Linked DNA regions of Homo sapiens: region 1 is linked to region 2. Evidence: promoter capture Hi-C in 16 types of primary human blood cells and fetal thymus (Javierre and others, 2016). All regions are on one chromosome and are shown on one strand. The core of a region is centred on a gene start or on the middle of the fragment in contact, and the rest is flanking DNA. Distances in the headings are between cores, read along the strand shown. Region 1 overlaps SLC13A1 (solute carrier family 13 member 1). Region 2 holds the start of CADPS2 (calcium dependent secretion activator 2).

Region 1 (6,962 bases), core at 145-2,644, 260 kb after region 2:
CTCTGCAACATGCTGCCACTGCCAGGGAATGAGGGAGGGGCAGCATCTGTGATTTTACACTGTTTTCTCTACCTCTTCAGTGCCTCTTTCAATGATATGAAATTAAAAGGAGCTACTGTGAGTGCTCACCTGATTTTTGGTCCTTATGAAGGTGCTTTTCTGTATGTAGATAGATGTTAAATTGGTGTCCTTGCACGGGGTACTATCCATGGAGCCCTGTATTCCACCATCTTGCTCTGCCCCTTTCTTCCTGAACTGTTGACCCACAAAAATAATGAGATAATAAATGTGTGCTGTGTTAAGCCACTAAGTTGATTGCCATTTGTAAGGTAGCAGTAGAAGAGGAATACACAGGGAAACCTATTACAAGATAAAGTCCCTCGGAAGTAGGGTAGAGTGGAGTAGATTTTAGTTTACATGTGAAGATAAACAGAAGGCAAGATATTTTAGATATATTTGGAATAAAACCTAGGAAATGGAGAAAAGATGTCATATGTTGAAATGGTGAAGTCTGAGGGGAGGTTGGATTGGCAGGAGGGCAGGGGAGAGGTGGCAGATCAAGCATGCTGTTTTGGGATGTGATGATTTGAGATGTCCCTCAGTTTTTGAAGTGGTCATGTTGGAATGCAGCTGGATAAGTAAGTCTGAAATTCAGAGGAAAGGGCAGGGATAGAGATAAAAAATTGGTAGTTATCAGCACATAGGTGGTATTACAAACATAGAAATGGGTCTGATCATTTAAGCAGTAATGGAGATTTAGAAGAGAAACTGAAGTGCTTCTCTTGGGGCACTGTAAGTTTTAGAGGTTAGGTAGAAATGAGCAGATGAGCTAAGCACTTTTAATTTTATCAAAAATCCTGTGAAAAAAGCATTAAATTTTTATTTTACACAGGAATAAACTGAGTCTTAGGGGGCTAAGTGGATTTCTCAAAGTCAGATTGTGTAGTCAAACTGGATTTTTAACCCAGGAGGAGTTTAAAACACAACCTCTGTTCATTAAACCATTACATCCTCAATTTTAGCTCCCAGGTAAAAAGAGAAAATGCCACATATATTACAAAACATCCGCAGGCTGGAGTACAAACTTTATGTTTTCTTGGCACTTTAAAACAATTGTAGAAATGATGCCCCATAACACGGAGATGTGCTTTGACCTAAAGCACATTTACACGTCAAGGTTGACTCTTAGGAAGAGTCATTGTCACTGCAAGTAACTTACATGTTATATGCAACTTATGCCCCACTGCAAAACAAATAACTTTAATACCCATGAAATACTCAGAACATAGCTTCAAAAGAATGAATGTAGTCTTGGAAATTTATAACCTTGGAACAGATTTTGGGCATTAAGTGTCATAGTATGCTACTATAGATACTATAATTGCACACCAATTATAGACCTTTTGACTGATGACAGTTTTGATTATCTCTGAGATAAAGCTACTTTTCCATTTTGTGTGTGTGTACTTCCAGAGGATTTTCCTCAAAATATTAACTATTTATCATTCATGATCCAGGCTGAGATTTTTAACAGCCATGGCAAAAGTAGAGCAGTGGCAATAACAACAGCTAACATTATTGACAAGTTACTATGTGCCAGACCCTCTGCTAGAGCCACATGTGCATTATGGCATTTAATTAATTCAATAATGTTGTAAGTTCTAGTATCATCCCCATTTTACAGAAAAGGAAACTGATAGTCACAGAAGTTAAGCTAATATATGGTGAGCTTGAAATCTGAATTGAGGTCTAAGTCCAAACTCTGCCGTGTCAAAATTTCTTCCATAGTATTTACCATATTGCAATCTTACAGAGTAATATGAATTACTTGACTGTATCAACTAATTTCATGTGAATGATGGAAACCAGCAGTTCTCTAATATCAACAAAGATGAAGCATAAGAATTCGGTCTGGATATTAGAAAAAGAAATTCACAGACAGGAACTAAGATGTGGAATCCCTTCTCTTGGAGAATTCATGAGAAAGGATATAAGTCATTTTCAAAAAGATGTCAGGTGCATTTCTTGTCTTAAATTAGGGGATACATTGGATAAATCCTCACTGGTACTGTGAGTTTCAGAAGCCTCTCATTTATAAACCAAAAACCTTTTAAAGTTTTCTAAGTCAGTAATTGGAGTGTAGATAATGGATGTGTATTCATAGAAACAATACTCTTGGAGGTCTGTGTAATATTGATCCTAAACTCCTATACCAGTGTTCGTTGAACACAAACACCCATTCTTTCTAGAATGGAGATTGACATTCTTTGAGTCTTGTATTTCTTAGAGAATCCGTGCATGCACAACATTTTGCAAATAATTTCAGAAAATTCATAGAGTCTATGAATCTACTTCACAGAGAGTAGTTTTCCTGCCTCTAAACTCTAATTTTTCTGTGAACCCAAATCCTGTTCCTAGGCTTTCTCAATTGTGTCTGTCTTCTTGAAATTCTGATTATTATCTGTTCTTTTAGTAGAACCAGTCTGAGTGCACATATGACACCATGGACTTTCATACTATTGTTTCAATGATACTTACATAGCGCAAAATATTTTTACATAGTTTACTTCATTGAATTCTCACAATAACCCTATCAACTGTGACTATTTTACATATGAAAAAATTAAGTCTTGGGAGAATCATGGACCTTTTTGTTGTTAAATTCATAATGTGGCCGGGTGCAGGGGCTCATGCCTATAATCCTAGCACTTTGGGAGGCCAAGGCAGGTGGATCACTTGAGATCAGGAGTTTGAGACCAGCCTGGCCAACATGGCAAAACCCCGTGTCTACTAAAAGTACAAAAATTAGCTGGGTATTACGGTGCATGCCTGTAATCCCAGCTACTCGGGAGGCTGAGGCACGACAATCACTTGGCAAAAGTTGCAGTGAGCTGAGATCGCACCACTGTCCTCCAGCCTGGGCAGCAGAGTGAGACCCTGTCTCAGAAAAATAAATAAGTAAGTAAAATAATTCACAATGTAAGTACCTGCAAATTGAGGATTTTTTAACCCAAGTGTTCTACCTGTTGAATCCACAGATTCCCATTTCTGCAATGGAATTGTCATCACAGTTCCAAACATATTAACAGTCATATATCTGTTTGTAGAATACTTTATTACTGACACTTATTACAATTGTTCAATCTTTCAAATCTTTTTTGAATTCCAAAGCCAAGCCTTCCAAAATTAATACCTCTGTTCACCATTCATTACTTAAGTTCACATGTTGGTCCCCAAACCCTACATAAATTGTCCCAAGAAAATAATTCCTTTTCACTTTAGTTAACTACCATTTGTGGTATTATTTTCAATGAAAAATGTTTTTCCTGTTTGTTAAGGGTGGTCAGCCAAGAGTTATCCCCTCTGAGCTGACCTGGGAAATCTGTTGGCACAAGTTAATTCAGTATTCCCTGAATATTTAATTCTCAGTATAAAGGAAGGTCTGTAGATCTATAGATGTCCTGAAGGGAAACAAGGGAGAGTTAACATAACATCTCTGTACTTGAATTCTCTGAATCAGGTAAGAATAATTTTTATAATTTTTGTGCTGCCCTTATGTTAAATCACCAATCCAATAAGGTTACTTACGTATTGAAATACTCTGCAAAGATCAAGTTGGTGGAGGTACCAGTGATTGTTGTCAGTCCACCAATGGTAGAAGAGTAGGCAATGCACAAACACGTAAGTTTACGTGTCACGTGGCCCTTCTTTGTTCGATATTTGGTTCTCATGCCTGAGTTCTGTTCAACAACAACAAAAAACTACCATGAGAACTGCTCTATATTTGTTATGGACTGAATATTTGTGTCCCACCACCCGCACCAATTCATATGTTGAAACCCTAACTCCTGATGTGATTGTATTTGGCAATGGGGCATTTGGAAGATACTGTACCTTCCTTTGAGGATGTGGCCCTGGTCTGATAGGATTATGTCATTATAAGAGGACACATGAGAGAGCTTGATTCCTCTCTCTCTCTCTCTCTCTCTCTCTGCTATGGAAAAAGCCACAAGAAGGCATCTGTCTGCAATGCCAGGAGAGAGCCCTCACCAGACACTGACCCTGCCAGACCCTGATCCAATCTTCAGAACTGCAAGAAATAAATTTTTATTGTTTAAGCCACTTAGTCTGTGGTGTTTTGTTATGGTGATATGAGCTGACTAATATAGCATTTATCTTTCCATCAATAGAGATGTAGCAATAAAAGTATTTAAGCTGAAGCCACTGAAATATTTTAAAAACCCAATTTCATTCATTTCTTCATCCTTCTTTCTTGTCTCTTACCCAACTCTTCCCCCATGTCTTTCCTTCTCACCACTACTCCCAAAGCTTTTCATTATTTTTCTGTTGATACTGGTGGTACATACTCAATAAGTCCCTAAACTTCTTTAAGAAGGGTTTCCCCATCTACACACCTTAATGGATGGTTCCCAGGGGATATTACTCCTGAAGTGGAATGTTTTCAACACCATATACCTCAGCATTGAGAGATAAGTCAGTGTCCTCTTTGCTCCCACTGTCTATTCCAGAACATTAATCCTCCACTCACACAAAAAATAAATCCATTTTTTTTAAGGATCATGTAACTTGGATATCTCTTTCTCTCCCCATTCCTTTGACCATTATATTTTGATCTCCTGGTCACCCACTGTCATTTAAGATAACATTTGCACTCAGCACTTAATCATCTTCCTTAGTCCAAATCTTGTCAGTGACTGAATGACTACACTATGTTCATGAATAGCCCTTCAAATATCCTGGCCTCACAGATTTTTTATCTCATTTCCAACGATTTTCAGTTCTCCACCTCAGTCACCCCACCCCCATAGTTATACCTTGGACAATGGCACATCCTGAAATGGTTTCACTTGGGGAATCACTAGTCCAAATGTAAGTGTTTTATTTAAGAGATGACTTTCTAGGGTGTAAGCCAAAAGCAACTTCATTCTTTTTCTCACCCATGACCCTGTAAACACCCTTTGTTGGTTTGATTCTTCCTCTTCCTGTGGCGAAATTCAAAGAAGAACCAATAACTTTTCCGGTCATTTCATTTAATGAATGGTTTTTCAGTTATGTTTAGTCAGGAGAATAGCTTCATTTCAGTAGTTAAACAGTGCCCTATTTAATAAGAAAAATCCCAAATTTTAAACTTAAGCATTCTCTTATCCCCTAGATCAGGCCTGCTTGAAAACCCATAGCTGGAAGGAGGTTTGTGAGTTTGACTTTCTCTTTCTCTCCTAGTTCCAATTCTTCTCACCACTTGCTACACTCAGTTTTTAAACCTTCAACATTTGGAATGTCAAGAGAAGAACAGGATCAGGAGAGGAGTGGTAAGGATTAGGAGAAGTCTTATTTGACTGTGTATTAATTTTAAAATGGTATTAGTACTTTCCAGGCATGGTGAATTTTTGAAATGACTCCATCTGGTGGGCAATTTTATGAGATTTTATGAGACTCCTATTATCCAAATAAGAACATCAGATTGTTGTTCTTTCTATGTAGGTAACACACATCTTCTGCCTGGTGACGTATGACACACTCATGGTGTCTGCATGTGATAGTCTACCTGGTCTCTTTATGTTGAAATCCACTTATGCTGTCAAAAATCCCTTCTGGAGGAAGTTGCCTTTCAAATGATCCCACATGACACTCCTCCCACATGTTTCCTACATATGGTCCAAGGGAAACAGTCACCTCTGTCCTGTTGTCAGTGACAGTGCAGCTGAAACTTGATTAGGTAAAGAAATTCAGCCACGAGTTTTTACTTTATAATTTTTCAAGAATGTGTCAAACACTAATCCGTTGACCTTTTCTAAGTCTAAGGTGGTAGATAGCAAGTTCTCCAAGTAGTAGTTTCTTAACGTCTATCTCACCTTGTTAAGTAGGAGACTCTTCCCTTCTTTCGACTGTGATGGTACAAGTGGCAGGGGGTTGGGGCACTGGGGAAATACTCCAACTTTCTCCATAAGCAGACTGTCTCTCAGCCTTCTCATTTTAAACACTAAGTTTAAGAGTCTAAAGCTGTTTTTTGGTCACCTCACTTGCAAGTACTGTGGAAATGAAATGCAAAAATACCTAAGTGTGTGCTTGATATTATAGTTACTCAGGGGTAGAAAGAGTATCATTTTACCATCCTGGTTATCAAGAAATTGGCACAGTTATCACAGTTTCTTCTTCCAACTTTGCTGTTGAATTAATTCTATCTCTACAGTCCTTCAACTGCACTGGCAAATCTAAGTCAATAAAGTATGTAGTTATGCCCAGTTATGGTCCTCTCCTTTCTTTACTTCCATCCTTATTCAGTTTAGATTCCATGGTACACCATTTCAATAAATTTTCTTAAAAAAACTCCAAACTCTCTTTCTTGTCTTTTCTTGAATGGTAGTTCTTTATGAAAATTCCAACTGATTTATAAACCCAACCATTCTCTCTCTCCATGTCATGTCTGCTTCTGAGTAGCCAGCTACTGTTGTTAAAAATTACATGCACAGTAGAGCAGATGGGATCATTCATGATCACAAACATCCAGTGCTGTAATGATGTTGCTCCTCTACCCTACTGTGTTTGCATAACCAAATTACTCTACCTCTTTCCACAAGGAAATATAAAACCTTCTTTATTATCTCTATACGTCCCTCTTAATGGTCCTTCTCAGTCTTTACAAGTAGCTTTGCCTCCTACTTCACAGAGAAAATAGAAGCCAGCAGACAATGGTATCACTGTGAAATGTAGAAACCTACTTGCATTTGCCCCATCTTCCTGTTCTCTACATAATTAATAGAGTCAATGTTTCTCCTCCAACTTCTTGTTTCTGGACCACAGTCTCTCAGATTTTCTCAGAAACCTTCCACTACAGACTATTGGAATTTTCATCAACATTTAATTATTTTTGAGCCATCCTTACAGAAGAAAAACAAGAAAGACTTCTTAACCCTCCTTTCAAGTAAACTATTGTCCTAACT
Region 2 (6,876 bases), core at 164-2,663:
ACTGAGGGAACTGTTACCGATTTCTACAGAACCTTCCAGGTTCAGCATTCTATTAAAAAGATTTCCTAGAGTTTGTATTGTAAACATTTAACCACTTAGGACAATTTGAGTCATTACTCGTGTCTGGTACAGAACATCAGGCCCCTGGGGTCTTGTTTTGAAACTCAAGTTGGCCAGCCTTTCACCTGAAACAAACTTCTTACCTTTTGGGGGAGAATAAGCATTTTGTTCCCCAAAAAAGCATTTGGAAAGCATTTGTTATGAAGTGATCATGCACCAATCCTTTATCTTTCATCAGTAATAGTATATTTCATTAATCAGGCCTGCCCAGACCAGAAATTACTTACCCACAAACACTTTACAAAGCTGCATGCCTTCTCGGTGTTTGGATTTGATGTCCTGGTTGTATGACAATATAGGAAACGTATTAATTTAACTTTTTTATTCACTGAGGAAAATTTCTACCCCTCTTAAGTGAAGACTTCACTCTAGCTAAGAGAAGTACTCGGGCTCCACCTGTTTCGCCTAGCTACAACACTCATTCAGACCCTCGGCAAACCCAGCTCTAGCAATATCACGCCAGGCTAGGTGGACAGGAATGCACCAGTGCTGTTGGAAATTAAAGTTGATGGGAGTTGCATTCTAATCCGGCCAGAGCTGCGCCTGCCGGGTGCAACCGCGGCGCGGCCGGCGCTGTCGGTCTCTGTCTCACGGATGGTGAGCTGACAGCTCCTGCCAGCCCAGGCGGGGAGGAGGAGAAGAGGTGTCCGCTGCAGCCGCATACCCGGCGGGTGAAAGCACCGTCTTGTCCCCAAAGATTCCTCTGCCCTCAGAGACTAACAAAAATACGGTGTCCTGCGTTTCGCAGAAGGACGGGAGGCGTCCCAGAGCTCTCCCGGGAGAAAAACCCAGGGAGAAGTGGTGGTAGGAGGCGCCCGGTCCCGCAACTCACCTTCTGCTGCCTCCGGGCCATGTCGGTGGGCTGCTTGGCGTTGAAGGGGTACGCGATGCACCTCACGACGAAGACGTAGAGCTGCAGGCGGATCCTCCGCTCCTGCTCATCGTCCAGCTGCCGCTGGGGCTCGTCTCGCCCCTCGCTGAGCACAGAGGGGCTCGGGCTCACAGATCTGGCCGCGCCGCCGCCGCCCGCGCGCCCCGGCGCGTCCCGCCGCCCTTCCCGAGTCGGGGCTGGAGGAGCTCGCTGCGAGCTGCCGGCTGCCACCAGCACATCGCGGCTTTCCTCTTCCAGCCCCTCGTCCGACTCCTCTTCGCTGGAAGACGGGTCCAGCATGGTGCTCGGGGATCCCCGCCGCTCGGCCCGCGGTCCCCAAGCGCCTCACCCCCGGCGGCTGCGCCCGCGGGTCTGAGGGAGCCGCGGGGCTGGCTGCAGCGGCCGCAGAACGAAAGGAAAACTGGCCAGGGCTTTCCGGACACGTCGAGTTAGATTCAGGAGTGTTTCCTACCACCAGGGCGAAAGGGGCGGGCAGGAGCCGGGAGGAGGATTGGGAGGGGGGAGAGGGGGAGCCGCCGGGACTGAATAGGCGGAGTTAGCGTTGGGGGTGAGCTTGGGCGCCTCAGGAATTGCTCCGCCAGCCCCGGGCGCGCCGACCCAGCGGTTCCCCAGAGCCCGCCGGCAGAGGCGGAGCCGCCCGAGCGCCCGGACGCAGGTGGGGAACCTGTGGCGCCTACAACAAGCAACACGTGGAATTGAATGTTGAAGAGCCGCGCGGGGCCGCGGAGTGCGCGTGCGCGCGCCGCCGCTGCTGCCCGGGCCCGCCTGGAGCCCTAGCACACAGTTTGCAAAGGCGGGGAGCGGCCGAGCGCGATGGCCCGTGTAAGCGTCCACCGGGGCTGCTCCGACTACCCTCACCCTACCACCTGTGATCTTTTCTCCAGCAGGTGGAGGTGGAATGGGGAGCGGGGAGGGACTGTTCCCTAGCAAGAGGTTAGGGGGAGCGGCCGAGACATCTCCCCAACCCGAATCGGCTGCCTAGGATTGAACCCCAGCGCGGAAAAGCGGGACTGGAGCCCTTCACCACGAAGTATCTTTGCGACAAGACTTTGAAAAGTCTCACTCTGCTCTGCTGCCGTTTTGATACTCATGCTGAAGCCCAAATTATAAAAGTCGGAGTAATGAAAAAAAAAAGAAAACCAACGAGGCTTACTTTTTAAACTGTTCTAGTCCTGCAGACTCAAGGCAAGAGAGATTTTATATGTGCAAAATGATACTGATTCAGCTCAAACATATCTCGATTATTTTCTGGGTTGGGATGCAGTTGACTCAAAACAGGTTGTGTAGTGTGGACATTTATTCAACAAAGATTTGAGCGCCCTCCCGGTGTCCAGCACTGTTAGCCTTTTGCGGAGCCCGCGGTGACTAAGGCACATGACACTCAGTCGCTGGTGGTTCTGGCCTCAAGTCGGCGTCTTGTAGCTGCGCTGAAGCCTGCCTTATCTGCGCAGATTTCTCAGTCCTAGTGCTGGAACCACCTAGGAGTTTCTTATAGTAATTCTGTATCTTATGTCCTAAGTCCTGACAGAGGGGGAAATAGGCAAAACAATGCATTCAACACCAGGTGGAGTGTGCAGCGACCAGGTGGGCAGGGAGGTGATGAAGTTCAGTGGAAATAACACAGGGCAAATTAACTACCAGCTCTGAGCTCCTCTACCACCATGGTCAAACAGCAGTTTTAGCTTTTTCAGGCCACTTTCATATAGTTAGGTACACAAGAGAGACTTCTGCACTTACTGACATTCTCTCTAGATGGGTAAAAGACAAGGAGGCATTTACTCCTGAGGAGTCTTACCTATTTTTCTGCCTAATCCATAACAGGCCCCCTAGTAATAAAAGGTCTTCAGTAAGAGCATGGCTGTGGGATGATCACAAACTGCCAAGAAATAGAAAATCTCAAACACCTATGTATTTAAAGGCAATGTTTTATTTTTGGCAAGGCAAACAAATAGCAATCTTGTCATAATAGCTGATGCTTATCTAGCACTTTGCAAAGATCTGTGAAATTGTTTAATACCCTCATCAAAGTAATAGCTTTCTGAGGCAGGTAGTATTATTATTGATTGCCCTTTGAACCAGATACTGCACTAAGCTCTTTACATACATTATCTCATTTATTTTAGGTTCCATTGTTCAAATAAGGAACCTGAGAGTTGAAGAATCCTTTCCTTAGGGTACAGAACTAGCACCTAATGGAATAAGGACTCAAAACAGTTTTCTAGTTCCAAATAGTGTCATTTTCTACTGCAATTTGCCTTGATAATAAGACAGTATAATAAATGTATGAGGTTTACTAAACTAATAAAAATTTCTAGGGACATAAATGTATGATTTAAATATAGCAACTTTACTGCCCTTTTCTTGCCAACAATAGGTATATTTTTCAGTTCCTTTTATTAATCAATATTACTTGATGTGATCACTTATTCTTTTCCCATTAAAGGTGGTTATTAAGTCAAAGATCTCCAAGCCTTGAGGATCCCACAGGAAAACATCTAATAATTTTTAGAGCAGAATATACAGTGTTTTCTCCATGAAGATGAAGATGACTTAAGAGGCATAAATTAAAGAAATATCTAAAAGACAACAAAGAGAATGTTTAAGCATCATTAAACATACATTGATTAAGAAACTAACATATGCTAAAGCTATACTGGATATATTTAGGAAAACAAGATATAGGCCGTAAGAAGTTTATCAGTTAAGGAATGACAAATGAAAAAAACATTTATTTAAAATAATCAATATTTGGATTGCAATCTGATGAGTGTTCCAATAACCTGGAAGATAATGGCAATACAGAGAAGAAACACTTCATTCAGAAGATAGTAAGTGATATGGTTTGACTCTATATCCCCACCCAAATCTCATCTCTAATTGTAATCCCCACATGTGGAGGGAGGGACTTGGTGGGAGGTGATTAAATCATGGGGGGCAGTTCCCCCCTGCTGTTCTATGATAGTGAGGGCATTCTCACGAGACGTTTATGGTTTAAAAGTGGCAGTTTCCCCATCTCTCTCTCTCTCTCTCTCTTGCTGCCTTCTGAAGAAGGTGTCTGGTTCTCCTTTGCTTTCTGCCATGACTGTAAGTTTCCTGAGGCCTCCCCAGCCATGCGGAACTCTGAGTCAAGTAAACCTCTGTTGTTTATAAATTACCCTGTCTTAGGTACTGTCTTTAATAGCAGTGTGGAAACAGACTAATACAGTAAGAGAAGTCTTCCAGGATGCTTGACATATATCTTGAAGAATAATTTAGAGCTGTCAAGATGAGGACACTGTAGATAGGAAGTAATGCAAAGATGTGAAATTGTTTGCCACTTTGGAGAATTACAAGTAAAGTGGCATGCCTGAAGTGAAGAATGTATGTAATATGAAGATGTGGAAAATGAGACTAGAGAATAAGCAGAGGCAAATTCAGGATTGGGTCTGTGTGCCATGCTTTGGAATTTAAACATATCCTGAAGAAAATGGGGAAATACAGAAGGGTTTTAAGTAAGGTAAGACATACTGTGATCCATAACTCTTAAGAGTCCATCTGGAGCAATATAAGGGCAATGAAACCAGAGACAAGCTATAAAGAGGAGATTACTAGGGACGTCTGAGAGAGAAACAATGGGCCTTGAACTTAAGAGAGAGGACAAGAGGAGGAGGAAAGCTGATGAGATGGACAAAGGAATTAATAGAATATGTATGAGGTGCTGACAAAGAGGGTCAAGCATAGAAGATGCTTGTCAGAATAGTGTAACTTGATTAATAATAGATATAATATGATCTTCTAGAAGACAGGTAGGTTTGGAGAAACATCAGGTCTTTGAGGAGCTTAAAGTACACATATGGATGATAAGGTCTAGAAATTATGTGTTCAGAGTGAGAAGAGGGCCAATGAAACTTCCTTGCCTCTCCTCTAATTAAGGGATGGTTTGAAGAAAAGGAACCTGAAAAGAAGATCTGATCATTAGTTAATTGTACCCAAATAATTTTAAAGTTTTTAATTTTGTGCTTGCGCTAATGTTTTGCCAAGTTTCTACCTTACATATTAACTTTTCAAGTAATTATAACGTTGGTTGATGCTCTGGAATCATTGATTAAATGAGGCCCAACATAAGGCTATATTGGGCACACAGCATAAATGCACACAATACACTTAAACTTATTCAATGATTCGTTTTTACTTTTTTCAAGGTGAGCATAAAAACAAATTGAATTTATACTGCTTTTTAATGGAACATCTCTTATGCTAAGGAAAGATGGATGCACAGTAATAAAATGGAATATAAAATGTGGTTTTGGCAATAATATTTAAGGAAACAAGTATGTGACCTGAATATCATAGGTGGGCTGTTTTCTGAATGAGAATTAGTTTGTGCATTTGGCCTCAAAGTAAATGTTAACTCTTTCAACTCATAGATGAAATCATTTTTTTCATAGAACAGACATTTTTTGGTTTCCCACTTTAGGTTATGCATTATTCTGAATACATAAAAGCTAATAATTTACCCACTGGGAGAATGCATATGAAATAGACAGGAGAACAAATTAAACAATAATGATAATATATGCTCATGTGTTGTTAGAGAAAAATTCTCAAAATATCCCTTAAGTGTCTTGAAAGTGGACAGTCTATTATCTTTTGTGGTATAGTTATAACTAAAATTATTGTACAACAGAAAGAGGAATCTTTTTTAGGACAAATGGAAGAATCAGTTTTGCAACATCTATGGGAAAACTGTCAGCTCACATAGAAATATGCACTTACAAAAATAAAATAAAAATATTTGTTTGAAATTTTGTGTTGAACATTTATATCTTATGAGGCAATAATCCTCTTGGAAACCACATTTAAATCCCTTCTCTCCCTTTACTCTGCTTTTGCCTTTTTTCCTCTCCAGTTAGAATCTGAGTCAGTAATGAAGAACTGTTCTGGGACCACACATTTTACAGGTAATGGGTGAAAATATATGCAGATGATAAGCATAAATTGACAAATAAATGAGTAGTTCCCAGTTCTCACACACACACACACACACACACACACGCACACTACACTCAAAGGGTTGTTGTGAAGAATAAATAAAATAATGCATACGAAGTACTTAAAATACTTGATAATGCGTACAAAGTACTGGTATAGAGTAAGTTCTCAGTTCATGCCAAATATTTTACTATTATACAGTAATCACTTTATTATTAAGCTCACTTTGGGCCATAAAGCTATAGAAACCAAATGTAAATAAAGTTGCAAATTGTTCTATGCATTTATTTATTGGATTTTATATAACTCAGAGTCTGTATTGCTATTATCATTAACCTGTAAAGAATCAGACTAACTCCCAGATGTTACAATATCTTGATATCGGAGATTTCATAATTTTTATAAGAAGACTTGACCCCAAATAAGAAGCTACCATCCTTTTGTTCCTATTCAATCTATGGGCATTCATTAGAGACTGATTACAGTTCTATTATTCTTTAATTTTCTATGTTATGAGAAATTTGAAGAAAATGAACAGAAATGAGTTGGCTTGTAAAGTGCAGGGAGGAAGGGAGTGTAAAAGCACATTGTGGCCTGTGTTCAAAGTGTCAAAGAAAAGTCTTGCATCAATTCAAGATATGTATTTAGTGGTTATTATGATCACCAGAGAAGCAAATATTTAGCCCAGAAGAGAATGTTTGGGTTTTTAAAATGTTAACAAATCCATAAACTATGTGAAATTTTTATGGCAATGGATAGAACATAGAAATTATGCTCATACTTGGATAAAGCAATAAATAGCCAGAGGCTTTTTTTTCCCTCCAGCTTTCATAGATTTTTATACTTATATTGACTTTGTTGTTAAACACATTTTCTGCCAGTCAATAACATGT

Evidence for each region. The method cuts DNA at HindIII sites, captures the fragments that hold promoters and counts their contacts. A CHiCAGO score of 5 or more calls a contact.
Region 1: a contact is called between a fragment that was not itself captured here and the fragment with the promoter of CADPS2 in region 2, in 1 of 17 cell types (endothelial precursors). The highest score is 6.5, in endothelial precursors.

What each region holds. Positions count from the first base shown.
Region 1 is chr7:123,143,571-123,150,532 of GRCh38, forward strand. It overlaps SLC13A1 (solute carrier family 13 member 1), which reads right to left. Exons shown (of 15, transcript NM_022444.4): 7 at 3,589-3,740. Among named protein-coding and RNA genes, the nearest start is that of SLC13A1, 53 kb to the right of the region's middle. The HindIII fragment of the contact is 5,865 bases long and covers 1-4,327 here.
Region 2 is chr7:122,885,047-122,891,922 of GRCh38, forward strand. CADPS2 (calcium dependent secretion activator 2) reads right to left here and starts at 1,414. Exons shown (of 30, transcript NM_017954.11): 1 at 953-1,414. The coding sequence starts at 1,291. RefSeq lists an enhancer at 702-751 and silencers at 1,112-1,241, 1,282-1,331, 1,342-1,421, 1,492-1,651, 1,662-1,821. The HindIII fragment of the contact is 15,066 bases long and covers 1-6,876 here.